Regions from separate parts of the Homo sapiens genome. Here all the other regions are linked to region 1. The links are contacts of gene promoters, found by promoter capture Hi-C in blood cells and fetal thymus (Javierre and others, 2016). All regions are on one chromosome and are shown on one strand. Each heading gives the region's core, a stretch centred on a gene start or on the middle of the fragment in contact. The rest is flanking DNA. Distances are from core to core; before and after follow the strand shown. Region 1 holds the start of ZNF160 (zinc finger protein 160). Region 2 overlaps ZNF616 (zinc finger protein 616). Region 3 overlaps ZNF836 (zinc finger protein 836). Region 4 overlaps ZNF766 (zinc finger protein 766). Region 5 holds the start of ZNF480 (zinc finger protein 480). Region 6 holds the start of ZNF528 (zinc finger protein 528). Region 7 overlaps ZNF808 (zinc finger protein 808).

What was found. Contacts are between HindIII fragments. The CHiCAGO score rates a contact against its expected background, and 5 or more counts as called.
Region 2: a fragment that was not itself captured here is called in contact with the fragment with the promoter of ZNF160 in region 1 in 1 of 17 cell types (total CD8 T cells); the score reaches 8.2 in total CD8 T cells.
Region 3: a fragment that was not itself captured here is called in contact with the fragment with the promoter of ZNF160 in region 1 in 1 of 17 cell types (non-activated CD4 T cells); the score reaches 5.3 in non-activated CD4 T cells.
Region 4: a fragment that was not itself captured here is called in contact with the fragment with the promoter of ZNF160 in region 1 in 1 of 17 cell types (neutrophils); the score reaches 5.7 in neutrophils.
Region 5: the fragment with the promoter of ZNF480 here is called in contact with the fragment with the promoter of ZNF160 in region 1 in 11 of 17 cell types (neutrophils, non-activated CD4 T cells, naive CD8 T cells and 8 more); the score reaches 15.4 in neutrophils.
Region 6: the fragment with the promoter of ZNF528 here is called in contact with the fragment with the promoter of ZNF160 in region 1 in 12 of 17 cell types (naive CD8 T cells, activated CD4 T cells, non-activated CD4 T cells and 9 more); the score reaches 12.4 in naive CD8 T cells.
Region 7: a fragment that was not itself captured here is called in contact with the fragment with the promoter of ZNF160 in region 1 in 1 of 17 cell types (fetal thymus); the score reaches 7.7 in fetal thymus.

What each region holds. Positions count from the first base shown.
Region 1 is chr19:53,101,658-53,105,324 of GRCh38, reverse strand. It overlaps ZNF160 (zinc finger protein 160), which reads left to right and starts at 1,903. Exons shown (of 6, transcript NM_001322131.2): 1 at 1,903-2,060. RefSeq lists a silencer at 1,451-1,860. The HindIII fragment of the contact is 3,069 bases long and covers 661-3,667 here.
Region 2 is chr19:52,133,169-52,136,835 of GRCh38, reverse strand. The region is part of intron 1 of ZNF616 (zinc finger protein 616); the gene reads left to right. It also overlaps the pseudogene LOC124904799. Among named protein-coding and RNA genes, the nearest start is that of ZNF616, 4.9 kb to the left of the region's middle. The HindIII fragment of the contact is 4,618 bases long and covers 1-3,559 here.
Region 3 is chr19:52,165,185-52,168,851 of GRCh38, reverse strand. ZNF836 (zinc finger protein 836) reads left to right here. Exons shown (of 5, transcript NM_001102657.3): 3 at 700-794. The coding sequence starts at 780. Among named protein-coding and RNA genes, the nearest start is that of ZNF836, 4.6 kb to the left of the region's middle. The HindIII fragment of the contact is 4,474 bases long and covers 1-3,667 here.
Region 4 is chr19:52,271,568-52,275,234 of GRCh38, reverse strand. All of the region lies in intron 1 of ZNF766 (zinc finger protein 766), which reads right to left. It overlaps LOC124904763 (a long non-coding RNA gene), which reads left to right. Exons shown (of 4, transcript XR_007067331.1): 3 at 3,262-3,400. Among named protein-coding and RNA genes, the nearest start is that of ZNF766, 3.8 kb to the right of the region's middle. The HindIII fragment of the contact is 2,716 bases long and covers 328-3,043 here.
Region 5 is chr19:52,295,378-52,299,044 of GRCh38, reverse strand. It overlaps ZNF480 (zinc finger protein 480), which reads right to left and starts at 1,876. Exons shown (of 5, transcript NM_144684.4): 1 at 1,822-1,876. ZNF766 (zinc finger protein 766) reads right to left here. Exons shown (of 4, transcript NM_001010851.3): 4 at 2,999-3,667. RefSeq lists enhancers at 1,645-1,694, 1,765-1,814. The HindIII fragment of the contact is 10,959 bases long and covers 1-3,667 here.
Region 6 is chr19:52,396,146-52,399,812 of GRCh38, reverse strand. ZNF528 (zinc finger protein 528) reads right to left here and starts at 1,964. Exons shown (of 7, transcript NM_032423.3): 1 at 1,909-1,964; 2 at 1,194-1,446. ZNF528-AS1 (ZNF528 antisense RNA 1) reads left to right here and starts at 2,056. Exons shown (of 7, transcript NR_125345.1): 1 at 2,056-2,351; 2 at 2,546-2,618; 3 at 3,061-3,203; 4 at 3,314-3,448. It also overlaps a transcript of ZNF880 not described here. RefSeq lists an enhancer at 1,453-2,652. The HindIII fragment of the contact is 5,447 bases long and covers 1-2,389 here.
Region 7 is chr19:52,531,271-52,534,937 of GRCh38, reverse strand. ZNF808 (zinc finger protein 808) reads right to left here. Exons shown (of 5, transcript NM_001039886.4): 2 at 1,929-2,030. Among named protein-coding and RNA genes, the nearest start is that of ZNF808, 5.4 kb to the right of the region's middle. The HindIII fragment of the contact is 1,779 bases long and covers 684-2,462 here.

The sequences.
Region 1 (3,667 bases), core at 654-3,153:
AGTTCAAGACTTGCCTGGGCAACATAGTGAGAATCCGCCTTTGCAAAAAGTAAAAAAATTAGTGGAGTGTGGCGGTGCAAACCCGTAGTCCCAGCCACTTGGGAGACTGAGGTAGGAGGATCACTTGATTCCAGAGTTGAAGGCTGCAGTGAGCTATGGTCTTGACACTGCACTCTAGCCTGGGCAACAGAGCAAGATGCTCTCTCAAAAAATAAATAGACCGGGCACGGTGGCTCACGCCTGTGATCCCAGCACTTTGGGAGGCCAAGGTGTGGGGGATCCCTCGAGCTCAGGAGTTCGAGTCTAGCCTGAGCAACATGGCGAAACCCCGTCTCTACAAAAAGTACAAAAATTAACTAGGCATGGTGACGTGTGCTTGTAGTCCCAGCTACTGGGGAGATTGAGGTGGGAGGATTGCCTGAGCCTGGTAGATGAAAAGTTGCAGTGAGCAGAGATGACGCCACTGCACTCCAGCCTGGGTGACAGAGCAAGACTCTCTCCAAGAAATATGTAACATTTTTAACATAACATAACATAACATAACAAACTTTCCCTGAATAACTGTAGTCATGCCAAGTGCTCATCCACAGCCTCATAACTTGTGCTTGTGCTTTCTAGCCTTGTTTACTCCTCCATATATGAAAAAAAGAAAAAAAAGCTTTTTAGTTTGTGTCTCTTGGACATTTTCAGATCTTGTGATTGGAACATTCTCTCTATTGCAATAGTCCTTTTGAATAAAATCTTCCTTCTCTAAGTCTGAATTTGTCATTTACAGTGGTAAATATCTTAATTGTTCTGAGATAAATTATGTATATTATCTTTTTGTGGCAAAGGACTTAATATATATTCAGTAGGTGAAAGTAGTTCCTGGGGCCAGGTATGGTGGCTCACGCCTGTAATCCCAGCACTTTGGGAGGCTGAGGCGGGTGGATCACTTGAGGTCAGGAATTCGAGACCAGCCTAGGCAACATGGTGAAACTTCATCTCCGCTAAAGAACGTGGTGGCGGGCGCCTGTAATCCTAGCTACTCGGGAGGCTGAGGCAGGAGCATTGCTTGAACCCGGGAGGCCGAGGTTGCAGTGAGCAGAGATCATGCCACTGCACCCCAGCCTGGACGACAGAGCGTGACTCCGGCTCAAAAAAAAAAAAAAAAAGTATAGGCGTTTGAGGTTGTCATCTCGCACGGAATAGAATAGTAAGTATAAAAAAGGACAATGCAATTTATATCTATTTTTTAAAAGTTACTGCTAATTTCAGGGCTTTTAAATTACTTAATTTTAATCGCAGAAACTTTTCCAGCATGCCATCACCGCTCCGTGTCAACCCATGTTCCCAGACTCCTGGGCTGCTTCAGCGTCAATAACATTACTGGGTAAACGCGCTAGCAAAAAATGCTTTCAACATAAACCGCCTCCATTCTAAGAGGAAAGCAGTTTGGTTTCCAAAATAACCTACACAACTGTGCTTTTAACTTGAAACCGTTTGAAACATCTACGCCGTTCCACAAGACACTACAGATGGCTCTGGGCGCTGGGCTGTGGGCATCACACGAAATCGCAGACCCTAACGTGTCCCGTCCAGCCCCGCCTCTCCCCCGGGTCCCTTCCTGGCGGTCCCTCTGCCTCCCTCCCCCGCGGTCCCTTCGCCTTCCTCCCCCGCGGTCCCTTCCCGCGGTTCCTCCCCGCCCTTCCCCGGCGGCTCCTCCCCGGCCCGCCCCCGGGTCCCTCCACTTGGTCACTCCCCACCCCTCCCCGGTGGCTCCTCCCCGTTCCTTCCCTGGGGTCCCTGCCTGGCGGCCCCTGCTTCAGCCCGGCTCTCTCAACGCCCCGCCCTTTTCCGGTTCCGCCCATCTCGGACCCCGCCCCGGGCCGCTCGGTCGCTTTCCTTCGCGCAGTTGCCCACAGACCCGGAAGTGGATCGTGCGGAGCAAGCATCACACCATGGCGTATGAGTGTTCCTCTGTGTAGACTCAACCTGCGCCTCGCCGTCCCCCATTCGCACACCCGATGCCCGGGGGTCGCTACGGACTTAAAATCTCCGCACCGCACCCTCCACCTCAGGTAAATAGGCCTTGCTGTGTGGGCCCGGAGACGCTTCCTTTTGGGTTAAAGTCGCCCTGAGGCTGGTCCCTGCCCCCGGTCTTTCTGCCTTGGGCCAAGTAAACACGGCCTTTCCCGGTTTTTTAAACGTTTAAGCAGGATTTTCCTGCTTAAAATCCTTTACTGACTCCTCCTCCCGCCCCGCATCGCTTAAAGTCCTCACCGCCTGCCCTGGGCGCCTCCCAGCCTCGCTCTCGTCGGCCCCTGGAGCGCAGCGCCGCCGACCCAGTCCCGGGGAGGCCGCGCCTCCGCCTGGTCCTGGGATCCTGCACATCCCACCCCTGTCCTAAGGCGCCGTCGCCCCCCACCTCCCTCCTCCTCGTGCCGGGCCCTGCTGCTCCCCAGGCCTCCCCTTCGCAGTCACCGCTTCCCTTGAGCCCTCGTTGGGGAGGTGCCCGGGGCCCGTCCTGTGACACCCGGTGTTTTTGCCTGCCCAGCTCCACCCCCTGGAAAATGTACTCCTCCAACATGCAGACATCTTACTACAAACCCTCCAGTGAATGTGTGGCCCAAGGGAATCAGGAGAAAGAGAGACAAAGAGCCACTGAGAGGAGATGGAAAAACCAAGAAAGAGAAAAGAAAAATGAGGGAGACCCATAAACAGATGGCAAAGTGGAGGATGGGTGAGAGATTTGCAGCGACAGAGTGAAAGAAGCAGTCAAGAAAGTAGCAGGGGCAGAAAAGCAATTGGCGAAATGTAGAGAAAAGCTCGATGTCCCGAGATGCAGGACAACAAGATAAGGAGAGGGACAGCAAAGAAGGAGCCTCCTCAGACAGAGAGTGGGGGAGAGGAGAAAGGATTTGGCCGAGGGCAGACAGAGCTGCGTGGTGCTGGGACAGCTGGAGGGGACAGCTGGTGACAAGGCGAGCAGAGGGAGCACCACAACACAGGGAGGCCTGGGATCTGGGAGTGCCAGAGAGTGGGGATAAGCGGGTGTAACAGGGAAGAGGGGATTTAACAGGGAGAGCAGAGGAGGCGCGGAGATGGGGTAAGAAAGAGGCAGAAATAGATGGAGATTGGGACGATGAAAAGATTGGAAAGAAAACGCCACAAGAGGTGAAACAAATTGGAAGAATGGAGTAGAACAGATATAAGGGGAAAAAACAAAGAAGGGAGAAACAGCAGAAGAAAAAAGAGGCACAACATCGTCAGAATCCTAGGGGGAAGATAAAAGGGGAAAAAGGCTGGAGAGACAAGGTGAAAGTGAGAGGCACAAAATGGGGGAGAGGAACACATAGTTATAAAGAAAGAGGGGCGCCCTGGGGCCAGGTGAGAGGTGAGTTGAGATTGGATATGACAATTTGATTTCTCTATTTATAATGTGTTACATTTAAATTGTAATCTAATTGTTTAAATTCTACATATAAGGATGAGAATTACAAAGCTCTGTGTAAAAGGCTTGTGCATTTTACAATTATGGCATAAGAGGCTAGCTTTCATTTGCCCATGCTGTTTAGCCATTGGGCAGTGACTTGCCTCATTCAGTTATGGGTCTCCCTCTTCCTGTTTCCGAGGATGGGGTAGGGTGGGGGCAGTGAAGAGAGGCAAGGAGTGACTGGCTGTGTCA
Region 2 (3,667 bases), core at 1-2,500, 970 kb after region 1:
CCATCTCAGCTTCTCAGAGTGCTGGGATTATAGGCATGAACTACCACACCTGGCCTAGATGTCTCTTAAACATACTGATTGGATTGCCTTTGGATTTATACCCAGAAATGAGATTGCTGGATTGCATTGTTGTTCTATTTTGAATATTTTGAAGAACATCCATAGTGTTTTTCATAATGGCTGTACTGATGTGCACTCCCAGCAGCAGTGTACAAGGGCTCATTTTTCTCCATATCATTGCTAACACCTCTCTTGCCTATTTGATAATAGCCTTCCTAAGAGGTATGAGGTGACAGCTTATGGTGGTTTTGATTTGTATATCCCTGATGATTAGCGATCTTGAGTACCTTTTCATATACCTGTTGGTCATTTGTATGTTTTTTTTTGAGACAGAGTCTCACTCTTGTTGCCCAGGCTGGAGTGCAATGGCGTGATCTCAGCTCACTGCGACCTCATCCTCCGAAGCACCTGAGATTACAGGCACCTGCCACTATGCCTGGCTAATTTTTGTATTTTAGTAGAGACGGGGGTTTCACCATGTTGGTCAGGCTGGTCTTGAACTCCTGACCACAGGTGATCTGCCCGCCTCGGCTTCCCAAAGTGCTAGGATTACAAGCGTGAGCCACCGTGCCTGGCATTTGTATGTCTTATTTGCAAAATGTTCAGGTCCTTTGCCCCCTGTCCCCCCCCCGCTTTTTTTTTTTTTGAGACAAAGTCTTACTCTGCTGCCTAGACTGGAGTGCAGGGGCGCCATCTCGGCTCACTACAACATCTGCCTCCTGGGTTCTAGCGAGTCTCATGCCTCAGCCTCACAAGTAGCTGAGATTACAGGCATGTCCCACCATGCCCAGCTAATTTTTTGTGTTTTTAGTAGAGATGGGGTTTCACTGTGTTGGCCAGGCTGATCTTGAACTCCTGGCCTCAAGAGATCTGCCTGCCTCGGCCTCTCAACATGCTAGGATTACAGGCATGAGCCACTGTGCCCGGCCCAACATCAAAGAACTTTAAAAGGCATTCCCTTCCTGACTTAAGGAACAACTTCTCATTGTCCAGGCCTTCTTGTTGTACAGCCAACAAAATACTGCAAATCTCCAAAATATTCTTCAGGATGTTTATTGAGGAAAATTTTATTGAAAGGAGCCACACAATCCAAAGCTGTATTGTTCAAGGGTCAGCTGAATTGAGGAGCAAGTCCTAAGCTGAGCCCACGGGGAGAGTGGGCAGCTGGAGTGGTGGTGCATTGGTCCTGAGGGCATGGAACCCAGAGCTGCAGCACAGCAGGCACTCTCCATAGTGACTTCTGTGGGGTCCATCACTTTGGGGGCTACATTTGTTATTTTGGAGTATTTTGGGCGGCAAGTTAAGATGGTTATAGATGCATTTTGGACTATCTAAATGTCAATATGGAGAGTTTCCTTGGAAGATGTTGGGTCTCACTGGGGTATGTGCATCATTGGAGACATCTGTTTTAGTAGATGGTGGTGCCAGTGTTCAAGGGTGGGGTCATTATGAATGGAATCGAGTGTCTTGGGTCATTGAGTCCTCAGGTATCTTTGTGTGTATTAGGTCAGCAGGAGTTTATGAGTTGTTGGGGCATGTGGGATTTCGTAGCACGATATGGGGAGCACTATGGAGTATCTGGGAAGGGTGTGGACCCCAAGGAAGTTTGTAAACCTGTCTCAGTTTAGGAGGGGAACGTTAGGGCCTCAAACTCTAGTGACAAAAGGCTTTCGTTAGGGAGGGTTTTCTGTGGTGGGTCTATGGCAGGATGGTGGCTTAGGGAAGATTTTTCAAAGAATCAGAGAATATGATATCACAACGACCTGCAGCACAAAGATTTCAACTGGGACTGTCCTCGGAAGATACAGCTGTTACTTTCTCGCTGCCAGGACAGTGGTGATTACTTTCCCCCCACCTCTGTCTGCTGCAACAATCACAGGGAGCTACGAGGCAAAATGCTTTAAACTCAGTGTGGAACAGGGATATTTTCTCCAGGCAAGAGGGTCCACTAGGTGCTGGGGAGGCAGTTTGGGGAGAGGATGGGTAATGCTCTTTGGAGAATGACAGGCCTAGTAATTGCAGGGTGTAAAGGAAAAAACAAATTTTTTCCTTTCTACTCTCACACTTAACACAGAACTCTTCTGTGGCCAGTGTTGGGGAGTTTTCTCCTACACACTAAAAAATTCTCCAGCAGACAACAGCTAGATTGCCTTAGAATTCAATTTAATTCTGGCACTGTCTACCTGGAGTTAGAGTCATCTCCCACAGGTTGCCCACAGGTAAAGGGCTCAGTCTCACAAGACCTCCCCGGCTCACTTCAGCTACCATTTCGAAAGTAGTAGGTTGTCACCTATACTTCTGACCTACTGACTCCAAATTGGCATTCCTACTACCCCAGCCAAAGGTTTGATTAATTTGCTAGGATGGCTCACCGAACTTAGAGAAACACATTTACCAGTTTCTTATTGTTGAAGGACAAAATCACAACAAATTCGATCCTTTTGTAGTTAATAAATGTGATGATTGGGTTTTCACACTCATGTGAGATGTGCTTCCCTCAAACCTTGTTACGATGTCGTGATAAGGAGGGAAATTATTACAAATTCATTTTTTAACTCCTGTTCTTGTTTTCTTTTTTGGAATTTTCTTTTTTCCTAAACGTGACTTATTTCAAGGGTCAGTTTGCTAATGTGGCGTTTAGCATGAGAGACTTCATTCTGGCTTGGTCTGGTAGTGCGGGAGGCTCGTACAAAACAACGGCCTTTCCATAAAAATGAACAAAATAATGCGCTTGGCCAGGACATGGGTGGAGCTGGAGGCGATTATCCTTGGCAAACTAACACAGGGACAGAAAACCAAATACTGCGTATTCTCACTCATAAGTGGGAGGTAAATGATGAGAAAACATGGATACGTAGAGGGCAACAACACACACTGGGGCCTACCTCAGGGTGGAGGGTGGGAGGAGGGAGAGGATCAGGAAAAATAACTAATAGACATTAGGCTTAATACCCGGGTGATGGGGCCAGACGTGGTGGCTCACACCTGTAATCCTAGCACTTTGAGAGGCCGAGGCGGGCGGATCACCTGAGGTCTGGAGTTCGCAACCAGCCTGACCAATACAGTGAAACCCCGGCTCTTCTAAAAATACAAAATGAGCCAGGTGTGGTGGCACATGCCTGTAGTCCCAGCAGGAGGCTGAGGCAGGAGAATTGCTTGAACCCGGGAGGCGGAGGTTGCAGTGAGCCGAGATCGTGCCATTGCACTCCAGCCTAGGCGACAGAGCGAGACTCTGTCTCACACACACACACAAAAACCCAGGTGATGAAATAATGTATACAACAAACCCCCATGACCCGTTTACCTGTGAACCAGGCTGCACCTCCTGCACGTGTACCCCTGAACTTAAAATATAAGTTAAAAAGAGAAAAAAAATTGGCCTATTATAAAGTGTAACAACTGCAACGTCTATTTTTACCTCTAGGGAATTATTTTAAACATTGTTTACTGATGGTGGTATTGCCCATTAAATGCATGCACACACACAGACCCTAAAGCTTATCGTTTCCTTCCACTCTGCCCTAATTGAAACAAAACATACTACTAACTACATTTCTGCCCGTATGAGTACCCCTCTTCTGTGCTGAAATCTTATTTATACTCTCCG
Region 3 (3,667 bases), core at 590-3,089, 940 kb after region 1:
TTTCACCTAGCGTAATGTCTTCCAGGTTCATCCATGTTGTTGCAAATAGCAGGAGAATCGCTTGAACCTGGGAGGCGGAGATTGCATGGTTCATCCATGTTGTTGCAAATAGCAGGATTTTCTTCTTTTTGATGGTTGAATAAGTCCATTATACATATGTACGCATACTATATATATCTATATAAATACACGTACACATAAAGATATGTATACAGACACATCATACATTTTCTTTTTTATTTTTATTGATTGATTTATTTATTTGAGATGGAGTCTTGCTGTGTCACCCAGGCTGGAGCACAGTGGCATGATCTCGGCTCACTGCAACCTCTGCCTCCCAGGTTCAAGCAATTCTCCTGCCTCAGCCTCCTGAGTAGCTGGGACTACAGGTGCATGCCACCACACCCGGCTAATTTTTGTATTTTTAGTAGAGACAGGGTTTCACTGTGTTGGCCAGGATGCTCTCAAACTCCTGACTTCAGTTGATCTGCCCGCCTCTGCCTCCTAAGGTGCTGGGATTACAGGCGTGAGCCACCATGCCAGGACACTTGGTCTTTGTTTAGGAATTTATTATCCTTGCATCCCCCTGGTGCAGTGGGCTGTCTCTCCACATGCTGAGGTCTTCCCTGTGGGCATGGTTGTAGCGCAGAAAGGAATGTGTTGTTTCCAAGCATTAAACAACAGATTTTTCACTTTCAGATTTGACTTGTAAAGAATTAATTATATTGACTGAGAGAGAAGCCCAGAAGAGGAAGAAGAGGAAAGAAAAGGAGTCAGGGATGGCTCTTACACAGGTAAAATGATATTCTTAGTGGATCATTCTGTCTCCTTCCTTTTTGAAATGCGACACATTGGAGTTGCGAATCTCCTCTGAGTCTGAAGCATCCTGCCTGACACGTTTGCTGCCATTCACCCATGCCTTCCCTCAGTTTCTCTCATCTCATTTAGCTTCTATCTCACTGCGACCCAGTGACATTAACTTGGGAAGAGGCTCCACTGGGCATGGTCCTGGGAGAGACTCACACCCAGACACGGATGGAGACGGGGTATGGGCCCCACAATGTCAGAGCTGTTGGCAGCAGAGATTGTTTAGAGGCAAAATCAGGATGCAGTCAGCTCTCTGTAGACCAGAAGTAGAGAAGCTGCACACGGAAGTCACATATTAATGTGCACGATACCTCATAAATTCTGGAAAAGAGACCTATGAGGGGAGATCTTTTCTGCCTAATTTTATACTACATTTGAAGGTGTATGAATTAATCACTGTTTCTAACTTCAAAATCTTAATGACTGGGAATGGAATGGACAATTAGATACACACGTCAGTGATAGAGGGTGTTTATTTTATCATTGATTTTTTTTTTTTTTTTTTTTTTTTTGAGACGGAGTTTCGTTCTTGTTGCCCAGGCTGGAGGGCAATGGTGTGATCTCGGCTCACTGCAACCTCCACCTCCCTGGTTCAAGTGATTCTCATGTCTCAGCCTCCTGAGTAGCTGGGATTACAGGCATGCGCCACCACGCCCGGCTGATTTTTGTATTTTTAGTAGAGATGGGGTTTCACCATGTTGGTCAGGCTGGTCTAGAACTCCCAACCTCAGGTGATCCTCCCGCCTCGGCCTCCCAAAATGCAGGGATTACAGGTGTGACCCACCGTGCCTGGCCCATCATTGATTTTAAAATATAAAATCAACCTGAATGTCAGATTCTTTTAGCCATTGTCACTGTATCCGTCCCACAGAGACTGCGGTGTTCATGCTGGGACTCTTCGCAGTTGTTTTATGTAAAAAGGTTATAATTTTGCTCAGATGTAGGAGCAGAACTCCTTTGTTATTAGAGAAGATGGAGCCAAATTCTCTCATTCCACCAGTTATTACTGAACATCATATTTCTTTTATTTTAAACATCACATAATATATTTGTTTGCAGTAAAAGTCCAAGCAGAGATGCAGTTGAGGCATTAAGAAGTTGGTACAGGCCGGGCGCGGTGGCTCACGCCTGTAATCCCAGCACTTTGGGAGGCCGAGGCGGGCGGATCACGAGGTCAGGAGATCGAGACCATCCTGGCTAACAAGGTGAAACCCCGTCTCTACTAAAAAATAAAAAAAAAAAAATTAGCTGGGCGTGGTGGCGGGGGCCTGTAGTCCCAGCTACTTGGGAGGCTGAAGCAGGAGAATGGCATGAACCCAGGAGGTGGAGCTTGCAGTGAGCCGAGATCGTGCCACTGCACTCCAGCCTGGGCGACAGAGCGAGACTCCGTCTCAAAAAAAAAAAAAAAAGAAGTTGGTACAACATGAAGATGATAGGAAAATAATATTTTATTATATATGAAATTCATGCTATGTTAGATTTTAGCTGTTCCTGTCAAAAAAAAAGGTACCTCTGAGATGATGGATATGTTAATTTGTTAAACCATAGTGACTTTTTTTACTATCTATACTGTAATATCATGTTGTATACCTTATATATACCATAAAATTTATAAGCAAACATAAAACATGGGGCATCAAGGAAACATTTCAGTTTTATGCTAAAAAAAAATTTATAATCTTAAAAAAGGACATTGGCCAGGCGCAGTGGCTCATGCCTGCAATCCCAGCACTTTTGAAGGCTGAGGCAGGCGGATCACCAGGTCAGGAGTTAGAGACCAGCCTGGCCAACATAGTGAAACCCCACCTCTACTAAAAATACAAAAATTAGCCTGGCGTGGTGGCGCATGCCTGTAGTTCCAGCTACTCGGGAGGCTGAGGTAGGAGAATCCCTTGAACCCAGGAGGCAGAGGTTGCAGTGAGCTGAGATTGCACCATTGCACTCCAGCCTGGGTGACAGAGCTAGACTCTGTCTCCAAAAATAAAAATAAAAATAAAAAAAGGACATTAAGGCATATATATTCTGAAAATTTAACTACAGAATATGAAATGGCTGCTAGAATGCAGTAAAAAAAAATTGAGCAAAGAATGAAGATTATTTTATTTTGATTTCTACAAATTAATGAAATGGAAAATGGAAATGCAAAGAGTTATCATTTTCCCCAGATCTTCAACATCTAAAAGAAACATAGTAGTAGGTTTTGTTCAAATGAGTGAGAAATCTCGTGTGATGTTGGTGGGAGAGGGCTGCTTTGCAGCTCAGGGTAGTGGAGAATCTTGCCAGATCTAGCAAAGCAGGAAATGCACCATCCTAGAGGAAGCGATCACTCTTTCAAGTGCCCAACCTGGGGGAACCCAGGTTCCTTTCCCTATCACATCATCCACCATCCCTCATGTTTCTGTGGGGAGCTACTGTTGCAAGTTCTGTGGCAAGAGTCAGTGAGAGGTGTCAAGTTGCATTTACACGTCATTATGAGATTTCAGAAAACAATTCTTCAGTGAATGTTCTGCTGTGAAGTTTTGTTTTGCAAGTTTTTGAAGTGTACATATTTTTATGTTAATAAACACTAATAGTTTGTTTTGCATCCTCTTTGGAGCAGTGCCTAAATGAAGACGTATGGGTCTTTTACTGTTTTTTGCTGTTACAAAGAATGTCACCGTGGCTGCCTGTATGCATGCTATCTTTACCACAGATGTCTGAAGTTTCCTCCAGGTTGGGCAGTTTAAAGAGTGAGTGCCTCTTTTAGGATGGCATACCACAAAAGCAAAAATAAATAAATGTTTTCCTTTATCTTTTTCTG
Region 4 (3,667 bases), core at 436-2,935, 830 kb after region 1:
CACATCAGCCTAGGCCTGCACAGGGTCAGGACCATCAGTGTCACTGTCTTCCAGTGCCACATCTTCTCCCACCAGAAAGTCCTCCTATGGTAACAATGGTTTCTCCCAGACGCCTCCTGAAGGACCTGCCTGAGCCTCTTCTAGAGGCGTCACTCCTTTCAGAAATACGTCCATGGTGGTTTGCTTGCTTTGTTTCTTTTGTCTTCCTAAATGTTCTTATGAGCGGATAATGCATCATGGACGCTCCTTTCTATTAATGAAAATCTTTAGGTGTTGGTGCCTATGTTTTCAAACCTTTTAAGGAGCTTGTCAAGGTCTGCAAAAGCTTCTGCTATATCTTTAACTGTGAATTGCCTTGAGAGTACTTTCTTTTTCTCCTTCAGTTTCCTATTGGCTCATTCTTTTTTTTTGAGATGGAGTCTCACTCTGTCGCTCAGGCTGGAGTGCAGTGGCGTGATCTTGGCTCACTGCAACCTCCACCTCCTGGGTTCAAGTGATTCTCCTACCTTAGCTTCCCAAGTAGCTGGGACCACAGGCATGTGCCACCACTCCTGACACTACTGACCTCAAGTGATCCACCTGCCTCGGCCTCCCAAAGTGCAGGGATTATAGATGTGAGCCACCGTGCCCAGCCAGTTCCCTATTCTCTTGCCTCTTCTTCAGCTACATGTTCCTGTATCAGTTCCAATGACTCCTCATTAACCCATTCCTCATGAACCACCTCTAAGAGATTCTCAATGTCATCCTCCTCCACATCCAGGTTAAAGCTGTTTGGTAACGCACTAGGTTTGTTTCCGCCAGCATCACCACAAATACAAGGAATGCACTGCACTATGATGTCATGACTGCTCTGAGGTAGCTAGGCAACGGGAATTTTTCAGCTCCAGTGTAATCTTATGGAACCACCATCACAGGTGTGGGCTGCTGTTGACCGAAATGTCCTTATGTGGCATGTGACTGTATTATGCAATTTTATATAAGGGTCTTGAAGATCATCTGATTTGGGTAGTCTTGGGGGGATCTTGGAAGCAAATCCTACGTGATACCGAGGGATGACTATACAGGGGGACATACAGGACAAAGAGATGATTCAAGTCCTGGACAAAACAGAGTGGGACAGTGAGAGATTGTATCATCCTGCTCAGAAGGATGAGAAATTGAAAACTTGTGAATTCTTCATTTCTGGAACTTTCCACGTAATACCTTGGACTGTGGTTGACCATGAGTAACTGGAACCTCAAAAAGTACACTGGCAGATAAGGAGAAACTACTGTAGAATCAACTTCAAATATTAAGGCTGGGCCCAACCTGAGTATGTGAATGGGAATCTCAGGTAAGAGGCTGGGGGCACAAGATGTGTATCTGCACTCCAATGTGAAAACAGGGGTGAGCTCCACTCAGACGGGGCAAGCCCAGCACACCCCCACCTTCTGGCTCTGCTCTACCCTTGGGTCTTGTTACCAGGATTTACGTAGTGGACAGCAAAAGAGCAGAAAGAAACATCCAGAGCAGGCAATGTGGACCACAGTAGGGGTAAGGGTGTAGCTGGAGTGTTAAATGTAGGGTGGAGAGGAACACAGAACCCTCCATGAAGAAGGTAATATCAGAACAAAGACCTGGGGAAGAAAAGGTGTTTGCACCTGCAGCTGACAGGCTAGAGATGTCCAGGCAGAGGGACAGCCCAGGTGGAAGCCCTGAGGCAGGAGCAACCCTGGCCCCAGGAAAGAGGTCTGTGTGGCTGCGGCAGAGGGAACGAGGGGGACACAGGGAGGAGATGAGCTCAGAGAGGTCCTGGGATGCAGATCACACAGGGATGAGGCCACCAACATTTCTCTCCCATACCTCCAAAGAATTTCAGAAACAACAAATTTCCTCATCTGTTTTAGTAACTATGTAATTATTTATGTTATAAATTAATGTACTTATAGGCTGGGCATGGTGGCTCATGCCTGTAATCCCAGCACTTTGGGAGGCCAAGGCGGGCAGATCACAAGGTCAAGAGATCGAGACCATCCTGGCCAGCATGATGAAACCCCATCTCTACTAAAAATGCAAACAATTAGTTGGGCGTGATGGTGCACGCCTGTAGTCCCAGCTACTTGGGAGGCTGAGACAGGAGAATTGCTTGAACCCGGGAGGCAGAGGTTATGGTGAGCCAAGATCACACCACTGCACTCCAGCCTGGTGACACAGCAAGACTCCGTCTCGAAAAAAAAATATATTAATGTATTTACAATGTAACATCTTACATATTTTGAACATATGACAAGTTCAGCTAAGCCCCAGGAAGTACAGGGTCACCCTCATCTGAGATGTGCAGGACTGCAGGGGAATGCATTTGGGGGAGTTCAGAAAGTGGCACATACGAAGGTGGAGATGCCTGTTAGATGTCCCAGCAGAGAAGTGAGGGGACAACTGAACACAGGTTTCTAGACCTCAGGGCAGAGGTCTGCAGGGCACATGGAGACAGGTAGATGGGGTTCAAAGCCATGAGATGAGATGATAAGGAAGGGTAGTGTGTGTGAAAAGAGATGAGAAGAGTTTTGAGATCCAAGCCTATTCAACATAGGGAAACCCAGTCTGTACTAAAAAATAAAAAAATTACTCAGGTGTGGTGGTATGCACCTAGAGTCCCAGCTACTTGGGAGGCTGAGGCAGGAGGACCTCCTGAGCCCGGGAGTTCAAGGCTGCAGGGAGCTATGATTGCACCACTGCACTCCAGTCTGGGTGACAGACTGAGACCGTGTCTTAAAAACAAAAACAAAAATGAAAAAGACCTAAATCATGGGACACTCCCACATTCAGAGAAGACAGCTTCAGGAGACACCAGCAGAGGAAACTGGTAACACAAAAATCTGAAACAAAGTAATTAAACTTAGAGATGTCTTCAAAGCTAAGAAAAAAGAACAGGGAATGATCAGCTGTGCAACATGTTGCTAAGACGAAAAGATGAGGATAGGAAATTCAAAATTGGACTTCGAAACACAGAGATCACTGGTACCTCTGGGAAAAAAGGATCAAAGGAATGGTGGAGGTGAAAGCTTAATTGGAAGGGGGTAAATCAAGAACTGGAGGCAAGACTGAAGACAGAAATATAAACAAGATTTTAGTGTACTGTGTTCTCAAATGGAGCGTTGAAGAGGGGTACTCACTACAGGGAGAGATGTAATTAATAGAATATTTTTTATTTTAATCATGGAGGAGTGGCAAGAAAATGAAGGCTTCATCTGTGCTTTTTTTTTTTTTTTTTTTTTGAGACAGTCTCACTCTTGTCACCCAGGCTGGAGTGCGGTGGCATGATCTCAGCTCACTACAACCTCCATCTCGGCTCACTGCAACCTCCACCTCCTGGGTTCAAGTGACTCTCCTGCCTCAGCCTCCGGAGTAACTGGGAATACAGGTACGTGTCACCACACCCAGCTAATTTTTGTATTTTTAGTAGACATGGGGTTTCACCGTGCTGGCCAGGCTGGTCTGGAACTCCTGGCCATAAGTGATCCACCCGCCTTGGCCTCCCAAAGTGCTGGGATTACAGGCGTGAGCCATCGCACCCAGCCAGTGTGTCTGTGTGTGTTTTCATGGACAATACCTCCATGTGGGTGCACTAACCAAAGTAATCCCTTGAAGTAAATATTGGTGATGCCAGAGGAAGGATGTCACACTGTCC
Region 5 (3,667 bases), core at 627-3,126, 810 kb after region 1:
GGAGTTTTGCATATCCATTTTCATCTGTATTTTTAAAGTATATTTCATATTATCAAATTATAAATAGATAAATCAATGTCACAACTTAATCATAATATCCAATCAACTCACCGTTCATCTGCACCCAGGGTTCCCTCTTTTCTGGGTACTGTGTTTCCCTCCCTCATTCTGTACGTATCTCTCATTCTCACCTTCTTTCTCTAGCTTTTTTCCCCCTTTATTTTTCCCCTAAGATTCTGCTCATTTTGAGCCCCTCTCTTCTCCTGATGTTTCTCCCCTTCTTCCTTCTATTCCTTCTCTTCCACCTGTTCTGCTCCATTCTGGCAACTTGTTTCACCCCTCTTCCAAACTTTCTGCTCAATCTTTGATCATCCCATTCTCCACCTATTTGTCTCTTTTTTTTTTTTTTCCCTGAGACGGAGTTTTGCTCTTGTCGCCCAGCCTGGAGTGCAATGGCGCAATCTCAGCTCACTGCAACCTCCGCCTCCCGGGTTCAAGCAATTCTCCTGCCTCAGCCTCCTGAGTAGCTGGGATTACACGCGCGCGCTGACGCCCGGCTAATTTTTGCATTTTTAGTAGAGATGGGGTTTCACCATGTTGCCCACGCTGGTCTCAAACTCCTGACCTCACGTGATCCACCCACCTTGGCCTCCCAAAGTGCTGGGATTACAGGCGTGAGCCACTGTGCCCGGTCTTGCCTCTTCCCCTGACTCTACTCCCCCTCTGCTCTCTCTGTTAAATCCCTTCTTTTCTGTTACACCCCCTTGTCCCCACTCTCTGGCACCCTGAGATCCCAGGCCTCCACCTGCTGTGGTTCTCCCTCTGCTCTCGTTGTCACCAGCTGACTCCTCTTGCTGTCCCAGCACCACGCTGCTCTGTCTGCCCTGGCTCCAAATCCCTCCCCCTCTCCCCCACTCTCAAACTGAGGAACTTCCCACTTTGCTGCCCCTCTCACTATCTTGCTGTCCTTCATCTCTCCGGAGATGGAACTTTTCTCTGCATTTCTCCAGTTGCTTTTTTCCCCCTGCTACTTTCTCGGCTTCATTCGCTGTCTCTGCAAATCCTCCATCCACTCTCTACTTTGCCATCTGCTTACGGCTCTCCCTCAATCTTCTTTTCTCCTTCAAAATTTTTCTCTTTCTTCTCCCTCGCTCTCCGTCTCTCTTTCTGCACACATTCACATGGAAGGAATTGGGATCCGATGTCCACAAGCAGAACACCTTTTCAGTGGGGTGTTATTTGGCCCGCAAGAACACTGGATGTCAAGAGACAGAGTAAGTCACCTCCCCACACGCAGGGTTAGGAGAAGCGGTGTCTGGGAAGAGGAGGCCTGGGGAGTAGCGGGGCCCCGTATCAAGGAGGGTAAAGGTAGGGTCTGGATCAAGAGATGGGTGGCGTCTGCAGAATCCCAGCACTGGGCAGAAGACGCGGCTTCTCCTGGATTGAGATTGGAGCGCTGTGCTCCAGGGCCAACAAAGGCGAGGCTTGGGGGACCGCATAGACCGGAATCCGCCTAGCGGGGGAGGACTTTACGCTGTGCGGGGCGGATGTAAGCATCACTGAAGGACTTGAAACAGGAAAACTCCGCGACAGGAGGTGACTACATGGCCCTGTGGCAGAAGGACGGGGGACAGGACCCGCCGCCGAGCGATTTAAACACACAGGGAAGCGACCGCCTGACTCTCACGGAGACGCCTGAATTTGGTCGGGGTAGAGGGAGCGGTGCGAGGATTTCAAGGTCTGTGTGGCCCCTCAGATCCCGGGTACAGAAGCGCGGGGGAGTTGGGAAGCGCAGATTAATTTACACAAAGGGAAACTCACGCGCCGCGGCGTGACCTTCACTCCACGCGATCCGCTTCCGGGTTTGTGGGAAACTGCGCGCGCAGCGGAGGGGTCCGAGCGGGGCGGGGGCGGGGGCGGGGGCGGGGGCGGGGGCGGGGGCGGGGGCGGGGGCGGGGGCGGGGGCGGGGGCGGGGGCGGGGGCGGGGGCGGGGCGGAGTGGGGCTTGCGCTTCCCTCCGCCTCGCTTCCAGTGCCTCTGTTTTCCGGGTTTTGCCGGGGAGACCTGTCAAGGAGACTGGAGCAACTCAGCTGTCTCGGAACTGTACTCTTGCCGGGACTGAGCAAAGTCGGCTAATGATTAGATCCAGGAAAATTCCTGCTATTAAAGTTAATCTTAAGCCGACCGTGCGGTCGGGCACCTGTAGTCCCGGCTACCCCGAAGACTGAGGCGGGAGGATCGCTTGAGCCCAGGAGTTCGAGTTTACACTGAGTTATGACGGCCACTGCACTCCAGCTTGGGCGACAGAGACTCAGTCTCTCAAATAAATACATAAAAAACTAAATTTAGCAATTTAATTAAGCCCTGGGATTGTCTGTGAAAGCGACGCAAGTTAATACATGAACTGCAAAGCCCTGCCTGGGCAGAATGTGCAATTTCATGCTGACGGCCCACAAAGCAGAATAGAAATCCTCTCCTTTTCTATTCCCTGTTCTTTCGGGAGGGACAGAGGTAACCCTGTGCTCAGCTCCAGAGAGTTTTCTAGTGACAGCACCAGGGGCATGGAGGGCTAAGGCCAGTGAGAATTTAGGTCACCAATTGTTGGTTTTAAAAAAGCATTAACCGGGCGAGGTGGCTCACACCTGTAATCCCAGCACTTTGGGAGGTCAAGGCAGGTGGATCATTTGAGGTCAGGAGTTCGAGACCAGCCTGGCCAACACGGTAAAACCCCATCTCTACTAAAAATACAAAAATTAGCTGGGCATGGTGGCATACGCGTGTAATCCCAGCTACTCAGGAAGCTGAGGCAGGAGAATCGCTTGAACCTGGGAGGCGGAGGTTGCAGTGAGCTGAGATTGTGCCACTGCACTCCAGACCAGGCAACAGAACAAGACTCTGTCTCAAAAAAAAAAAAAAAAAGTCAAAAAATATGTTAATTTAACATTCTCAGGATTTTAAAACTACAAAATGCTGATGAAAGAAATCAAAGACACCCAGATAGAGACATATACAATATCAATTTATTGATAAACTCAACATAGAAAAAAATGTGAAATTACCCCAAATTGATACACAGGGTTAATATATTTACTATCAAGGCACTTCGTAGATACTGACAAGATTATCCAAACAATTATGTAGAAAAGCAAAAAACAAAACAAACCAACAGAAATCCCAAAAAACCTGGAATAGCTCAAACATCTGAAAAAAAAGATAGAGCAGCATGCTCCCGGGAGGTGAAGGTTGCAGTGAGCTGAGATCACTCCATTGCACTCCAGCTTAGGCAACAAGAGTGAAACTCCATCTCAAAAAAATAAATAATAAAATAAATAAATAAAATAAAGATAAAGGGTTGGAATCACTTCACGTTACTTCAAGTCCTCTAATATAGTGAAAGCATTTTTTCCTTTTTCATATTTACAATAAAACGTTTATACCTGCCATTGTCTTGTGCATACTCTTGTCAAAAAATATTGTCTCCAAACAACAGTCTCATTTTTGTGTCCCCTAAAATTTTCACTAGAGTGACATTCGGAAAAAATGTATTAAGCATAGCATCTGGCCGGGCATGGTGGCTCATGCCTGTAATCCCAACACTTTGGGAGGCCGAAGCGGGTGGATCACCTGAAGTCAGGAGTTCAAGACCATGCCTGGCCAACATGGTGAA
Region 6 (3,667 bases), core at 715-3,214, 710 kb after region 1:
TAATTCCCATATTACTTTGGTGACCAGAGATGAGGCATTCTGTGTTGAGCGCTCTTTATTGTGTTCACTGTGAACACAAAAACACACTGGTTTTTCCTAACTTATACACTCACACCCTAGTCCATCCCAAGAAAAGAGAAGAGTGCCTTATAAATAGTGTTCCAATTCTCATCTTCATGTGTGGTTTTTTGTTTTTTGTTTTTTGAGATGGAGTCTTGCTCTGTCACCTAACCTGGAGTGCAGTGACACGATCTCGGCTCACTGCAACCTCTGCCTCCCAGGATTAAGCGATTCTCCTGCCTCAGCCTCCAGAGTAGCTGGGATTACAGGCGCAGGCCATCAGGCCCAGCTAATTTTTGTATTTTTACTAGAGATGGGTTTCACATGTTGGCCAGGCTGGTCTCAACTCCTGACCTCAAGTGATCCGCTCACCTCAGCTTCCCAAAGTACTGGGATTACACGTGTGAGCCACAGCTCCTAGCCTCATGTGTTCTAAACAAATTTTATATTATAGAAAAATTAATATGTCACAATTCAATCATAATTTCCAATCAACTCACCACTCATCTGTAACCAGGGTCCCCCTCTTTCCTCACTACTGTTTCCCTGCCTCATTCTGTACATATCTCTCATTCTCATCTTTTTTCCTAGCTCTTTTTTTCTCTATTTTCCCCTAGGATTCTGTTCATTTTGAGTCCCTCCTCTTCTCTTTGTCCCATTCTTCCCTCTATTCCTTCTCTCCCACCTGTTCTGATCCATTTTTACAACTTGTTTCACCTCTTATTCCTCTTTCTGCCCAATCTTTCATTGTCCCTAATCTCCATATATTTCTGCCTCTTTCCTCCCACATCTCAGCTCCCCTTGGGGTCTCCCTGTTAAATTCCATCTTCGATATTACACACCCCTGTCCCCACTCTCTGGCACCCTTAGATCCCAGGCCTCCCCCTGCTGTGGTTCTCCCTGTTCTCCTTGTGACCAGCTGCCCCCTCTGGCTGTCCCAGCACCACGCTGCTCTGTCTGACCTGGCTCCAAATCCCTCCTCCTCTCCCCCCTCTGTCTGAGAAGCCTTCCCTATCTTGTTGAATTTCGTCTTTCTACAGACCCAGGTTTGTCTATATTTTTACAGTTACTTTTCTCCCCTGCTATTTTCTCGGCACCTTCTTTCACTGTGCCTCTGCAAACCCCTCACTCACCTTCTACTTTGCCTTCTGTTAATGGGTCTCTCATTCTTCATTTCTCTTTCAAAATTTCTCTATTTCCTCTGCCTCGTTCCCATCTCTTTTTCTCCACACATTCACAGGGAGGGGATTGGAATAAGATGCCCACTTCCGGAAGAGCTCATTTTCTGTGGGCTGGAAACTGGCTCGAGAGAACACTGGATGTCAGGAGACTGAAGTCACCCCCCACACTCGGGGTCAGGAGAACCGGTGGCTGGAAAAGGGAGGCCTGGGGAACAGAGGGTCCAGATTAAGGAGCAAAAAGGCAGGAGTGGGTCAGGAGAGGGGTGGAGTCTGCAGAAACCAGGTCTGGGCAGAGGACGAGGCCTCTCGTGCCCTGTTGGGGCGCTGAGCTCTAGGGGCAAAGAAGGGCGAGGCTAGGGGAACGGAGAGTGAGGATTTTACGTGGTGCGGGGCGTGTGTAGGGGTTACTAAAGGATTTGAAGCAGGTAAACCCCACGATAGGAGGTGTCTACGTGGGTAAATGACAAAAAGACCGGGCACACGACCAGCCTCCAAGCGATTTTAACACGCAGAAAGCGACTCCCAGACTCTCAAAGGATGTCTGAATTTACTCGGGGTGGAGGGAGCGGTGCCGGGATTTCAAGGTCTGCATGCCCCTCAGCTCCCGGGTATAGAAGCAGAGAAGAACTGGCTAGCCTAGACTTAACATAGACAAAGGGAAACTCACGCACTGCTGCGAAAACAGTTTCTCCCTGCAATCGGCTTCCGGGTCTACCGGAAACTGCGCTCTAGGCGTTCGCCCCCCGCGGTCCGCTTCCGGGTTTGCACGAAATTGCGCGCGCATCCTAGAGGCCGGACTGGCTGGGACCAGGGCGGGCCGGGACAAAGCCTGGGCCGGGCCTGCGCTTCCGTTCGCTTGACTGGCTGCGCTTGTTTTCAGGGTTTTGGTCTGAAAACGGATCTTACCTGCGCAGAGCAAAATCGGTTGTAGATTATATCCACGAAAATTCCTTCTATTAAAATGAATTTCAAGTCCCACCTACCCTGGAAGCAGAAAGAGAGAGAAGAGAGAGAGTAAAGAGAAAGAGAAAAGAAAGAGAAGTTGAAAAAGAGAAAGAAAACCAAGAAAGAAAGAGAAAAAAACCGAAAATAAATGGACAAGAAAGAAAAGTAAGGAGGGAAGGGAAGGGAGGAAGGGAAGGGAAGCTTTAGGAATTGAATTAACACACTTTGGAATTGTCTGTGAAGGGGATGATGCAAGCTAAAATGTGAAATGCAAAACCCTGCCAGGGTAGAATGTTCTATTTCATGCCAGTGCCCATAGAAGATAAATACTTTTCATTTATCTTCCCCATTCACTCTAGACGGTGAAGGTCAACCCTGTGCTCAATTCCAGAGACTTTCCTAGGGACATCGTGTTGGGCATGGAGGACTAAGGCCAGTGTGAAGATAAGTCACCGATTCTTTAAAAAAAAAAAGCCAGTAACTTATAAAAATAGCCATAAACGACGTAGTTTTTTGTTGTTGTTGTTGTTTTGAGACAGCGTCTCCCTCTGTCCCCCAGGCGGGAGTACAGTGGCAGGCACTCAGCTCACTGTAACCTCCGCCTCCTGGGTTCAAGTGATTCTCTTGCCCCAGCCTCCAGAGTAGCCACCACGCCCGGTCCAACTTAGTTTTTTAATACTTTTTAAAATTTTAAGACAGGGTCTCTGCCACCGAGGCTGAAATGCAGTGGCGCAATCATAGCTCACTGCAACCTTGACTTCCTGGGGTCCTGGGCAGGTGACCCCCTGTCTCAGCCTGCCGAGTAGCTGTGAGTAAAGGCCTGTGCCTCTCCACTGTGCTAATTTTCTACTGTTTGTTGCTTTGTTTTTAATAGAGATGTAGTCTGGTTTTGTTGCCCAGGCTGGTCTCCAGCTTCTAGCCTCAAGCAGTCTTCCCATCTGCTCCTACCAAAGTGCTCGGATTATAGGCATGAATCACCTTGCATGGGAGATAAGGACCCCCACATCAAGCCCTCAGGTTATTTTTGAAACACAAATACATAAGGCCCACAAGCAGGCCCATTGGCTGCAGACAGTGGGGTCACCTGAAGAACTTTTCTTTGATCTGAGTACCAACTTCTCACCTAGGTCACTGGGATCCTGGACTACGGCACTGCTCCAGGCAGGCCTGGTTATCCTGCTTGAGGCAGCAATCCTCTTGAGCCTAGTGAAATGCAACTGGCTGTACCTCAATGATGTTGCCCTGAGATTCTGCCAGTCGAGGTATTACTTCAATCTCCTGAGACCAGCCTCTACCTCCAGATCCAGGGAGGTCAGTGCACATGTAAATGGACTAGCTTTATTAAAGGGGATATCTGGGCCAGGCGTGGTGGCTCACGCCTGTAATCCCAATACTTTGGGAGGCCGAGGAGGGCAGATCACCTGAGGTCGGGAATTAGAGACCAGCCTGGTTAACATGGTGAAACGAAGTCTCTACTAAAA
Region 7 (3,667 bases), core at 324-2,823, 570 kb after region 1:
GAGATCTATTACTTTCTCTTTTTTTACTTTTTTCTTTCCTTTTATTTTTGAGACAGAGTATTTCTCTGTGGCCCATGCTGGGGTGCAGTTGCGAGATCGTGGCTCACTGCAGCCTCTGCCTCCTGGGTTGAAGCTATTCTTCTGCCTCAGCCTTTCGAGTAGCTGGTATTACAAGCGCACACGACCATGCCCAGCTAACTTTCATATTTTTGGTAGAGACGGGGTTTCACCATGTTGGCCAGGCTGGTCTAGAACCCTGACTTCAAGTGATCCGCCAGCCTCGGCCTCCCAAAGTGCTGGGATTACACTCGTGAGTCACCATGCCTGGCCCAGGAAATATTCTTTACTTCACTTTTTAAATGTGAGAAAATATAATTGAAAAACAAAGAGTCTTCCCCCAAATGAGAAATCATCTCCACGACGATAATAGAGAAAGAAAGAAAAACTACTTCATTAATAAATAAGCTTTAGACCAGAATGTGATGGGAAATAGAGGCAAACAGCTAAGAGGTTGAAAAGAGAGAAAGAAACTTCAGTGTTCTATACAACCCATTAAGGACATGTTTTCAAGATAAACAGTAATCAGTCCTCAGGGAAGAGGACTTGAAAAGCCCTTGGTCACACATAGTTCATCCTGGCTCTACTTGGTAATGGAGGTGACCATCTCTGTCAGCTAACAAGCTTCATCCCGAGGGAGGGGGAGAAACCCTAACACTAAGCCTAATACAAAAATTAGCTGGGCATGGTGGCAGGCGCCTGTAATTTCTCTCTATTTTTAGTAGAGACAGGGTTTCACCACGCTAGCCAAGCTGGTTTTGAAATCCTGACCTCAAGTGATCCGGAAGCCTCGGCCTCCCAAAGTGTTGTGATTACAGGCTTGAGCCATGACAGTCAGCCAGGAAAACTCCTAGAAGTTGCACCTGCATTCCACTAGACTCTGGTTGCATGACCACATTCCTCTCAAGGCTCAGAATTATTTAAATGTCCATAGCTTTAAATTGGAATCATTTGATGTTTGAATTACTTAATTTCCTACTGAGACACAGGTACAATCTATCTTGTTGCTTGCCTTTTTTTTTTTTTTTTTTTTTTTTGGAGACGGAGTCTCACTTTGTCACCCAGGCTACAGTGCAGTGGCACAATCTTGGCTCACTGCAACCTCTGCCTCTCAGGTTCAAACAATTTTCCTGAGTAGCTGGGACTACAGGCATGTGCCACCATGCCCGGCTAATTTCTTCGTATTTTTAGTAGAGACAGGGTTTCAACATGTTTGTCAGGCGGTGTCGAACTCCTGACCTCGGGATTGACCCGCCTTGGCCTCCCAAAGTGCTGGGATTACAGGCGTGAGCCACTGCGCGTGGCTGTTGTTTGCCTTTCAAGGAGCTCCCAAGTTCTTCAGAAATACATCCCTGGGCCGGGCGCAGTGGCTCACACCTGTAATCCCAGTACTTTGGAAGGCCAAGGCTGGAGAATCATCTGATATCAGAAGTTCAAGACCAGCCTGGCCAACATGGTGAAACCCCGTCTCTACAAAACTATAAAAATTAGCCAGGCATTATAGCGGGTGCCTGTAGTCCCAGCTACTCTGGAAGTTGAAGCAGTAGAATCTCATGTACCTGGGAGATGGAAATTGCAGTGAGCCGAGATCGCACCATTTAACTCCAGCCTGGGCAACAAGAGCGAAACTGTGTCTCCGTTGGAAAGGAAAGAAAAGAAAACAACAGAAAAGGAAATAAAAGAAAATTAAACAAAAGAAAAGAAAGAAAACATACTACCTCAGAAAACAGAAAATGCACTTGCAAATTTTCTAATAAATGTCCTAAGAAAAGAGATGAAAGGAAAGAAAATCTCCTTCTTTAATTTCAAAGGAGGAATTATACCTCTCATTTATTGGCTTGTTTGTTTGAGATAGGGTGTAGCTCACTCACCCAGGCTGGAGTGTGGTGGCAAAAACAGGGCTCACTGCAGCCTTCAACTCCCTGGGTCAAGTGACCCTTCCACCTTTTTCATCAAGCATTTGGAAGAGATATCTACAAAATATAAACACCAATACGTTTCCAATTAAGTCCAGAAGGTAAAACATACTGAAATGTGTAAATATGACACAAAAAACAATACTTATTTTGAACTTCCCAAACATGATCTTCAAAGTTTAGGAACACAAAAGGAGTAAGATTCTTTAATAAATACTTAATAAATACTTTACGTGTACTTCAAATCATTTCTATGGAAGCCTATTTCCAATATGACAAAACGCTGACAGGGCACAAACATGTGTAAGCCTAAAGTAAGGAGTATTTTTCCACTGTGACCCTAAAATGTATCACAGTTTGCAAAAAACATATCACTGTCACATCAATGAAAAGTATAGATCCTTCATATTTACACAATATCTACTGTACACAAATAAATCCTAAAAGACCACACAATATATTATATTGGTAAATAATCCACCAGAAGCTTATGTAAGGGTAACCAAAATCAATTGAAATTCTGTATTATCAAATAATCGTAGCACAGAGAAGATAAGAAAAGATTCCAAAAATCAGCCAGGCGTGGTGGCGGTCACCTGTAGTCCCAGCTACTCAGGAGGCAGAGGCACAAGAATCACTTGAACCTGGGAGGCAGAGATTGCAATGAGCCAAGATTGTGCCACTGCACTCCAGCCTGAGTGACAGAGCGAGATTCCATCTCAAAAAAAAAAAAATGTTAATACAACCTTTTTCTGAATACCTGTCATAAAATTACCTAAATCCACGCAGAACAGGCACTTATTGAAATTAACAAGTGCAGTGTGTCAGTTCCATTACATATCATATACTGAAAAGCCATATGTGAAATCTTAAATATTAATCAGTAAACTATTCTAACCCATGATAAAACCAGCAAGCAAATAATAAGTACATTTATACAGCCTGCAGAATTCTAAACAATTCTCTCTCAAGAAAAAAGCCACAACTTCTACTTACCACCAGCACACACTATAAGACTGAAATACATGTTAAGATCACTACCTTCTGATGTATGAGTTCAAGTAAATACACAGCATTAAAAGGAATAAGAACTGACTAACAGTGTCAGAGGGTGCAATTACAATGTCACAAGTACAGTTACATAACACCAGGCAATACAGCAATTTTATATATATTCATTGCCCTTAGTTATCTAGTTACTGTGTGTAAAATATAAAACATAGAATGTGTACTGGGAAAATTTATAAACTGAGATCACAGAAAACATTGTATAAAACAAATTGCACAATAAAAACATCAAAAATATGATGCAGACTTCCTGGTCTGAATGTTTATATTGGCCAAAAGCGATGTTCAGAGTTCTTATTGTCCAATAGGATGTTCCTGCAGATGGTGCCTGTGAGAGAATTTGGTCATGCGTGTTGACTACACGTGAATACGTCTGCTTTTATTTTTATTATTAATTAATTAATTAATTTATTTATTTATTGAGATGGAGTTTCCCTCTTGCTGCCCAGGCTGGAGTGCAATGGCGCGATCTTGGCTCACCACAACCTTTGCCTCCCAGGTTCAAGCAATTCTCCTGCCTCAGCCTCCCGAGTAGCTGAGATTACAGCCACGCGCCACCACACCTACACACTAATTTTGTAGTTTTATAGAGACCGGGTTTCTCTATATTGGTCAGGCTGGTCTCG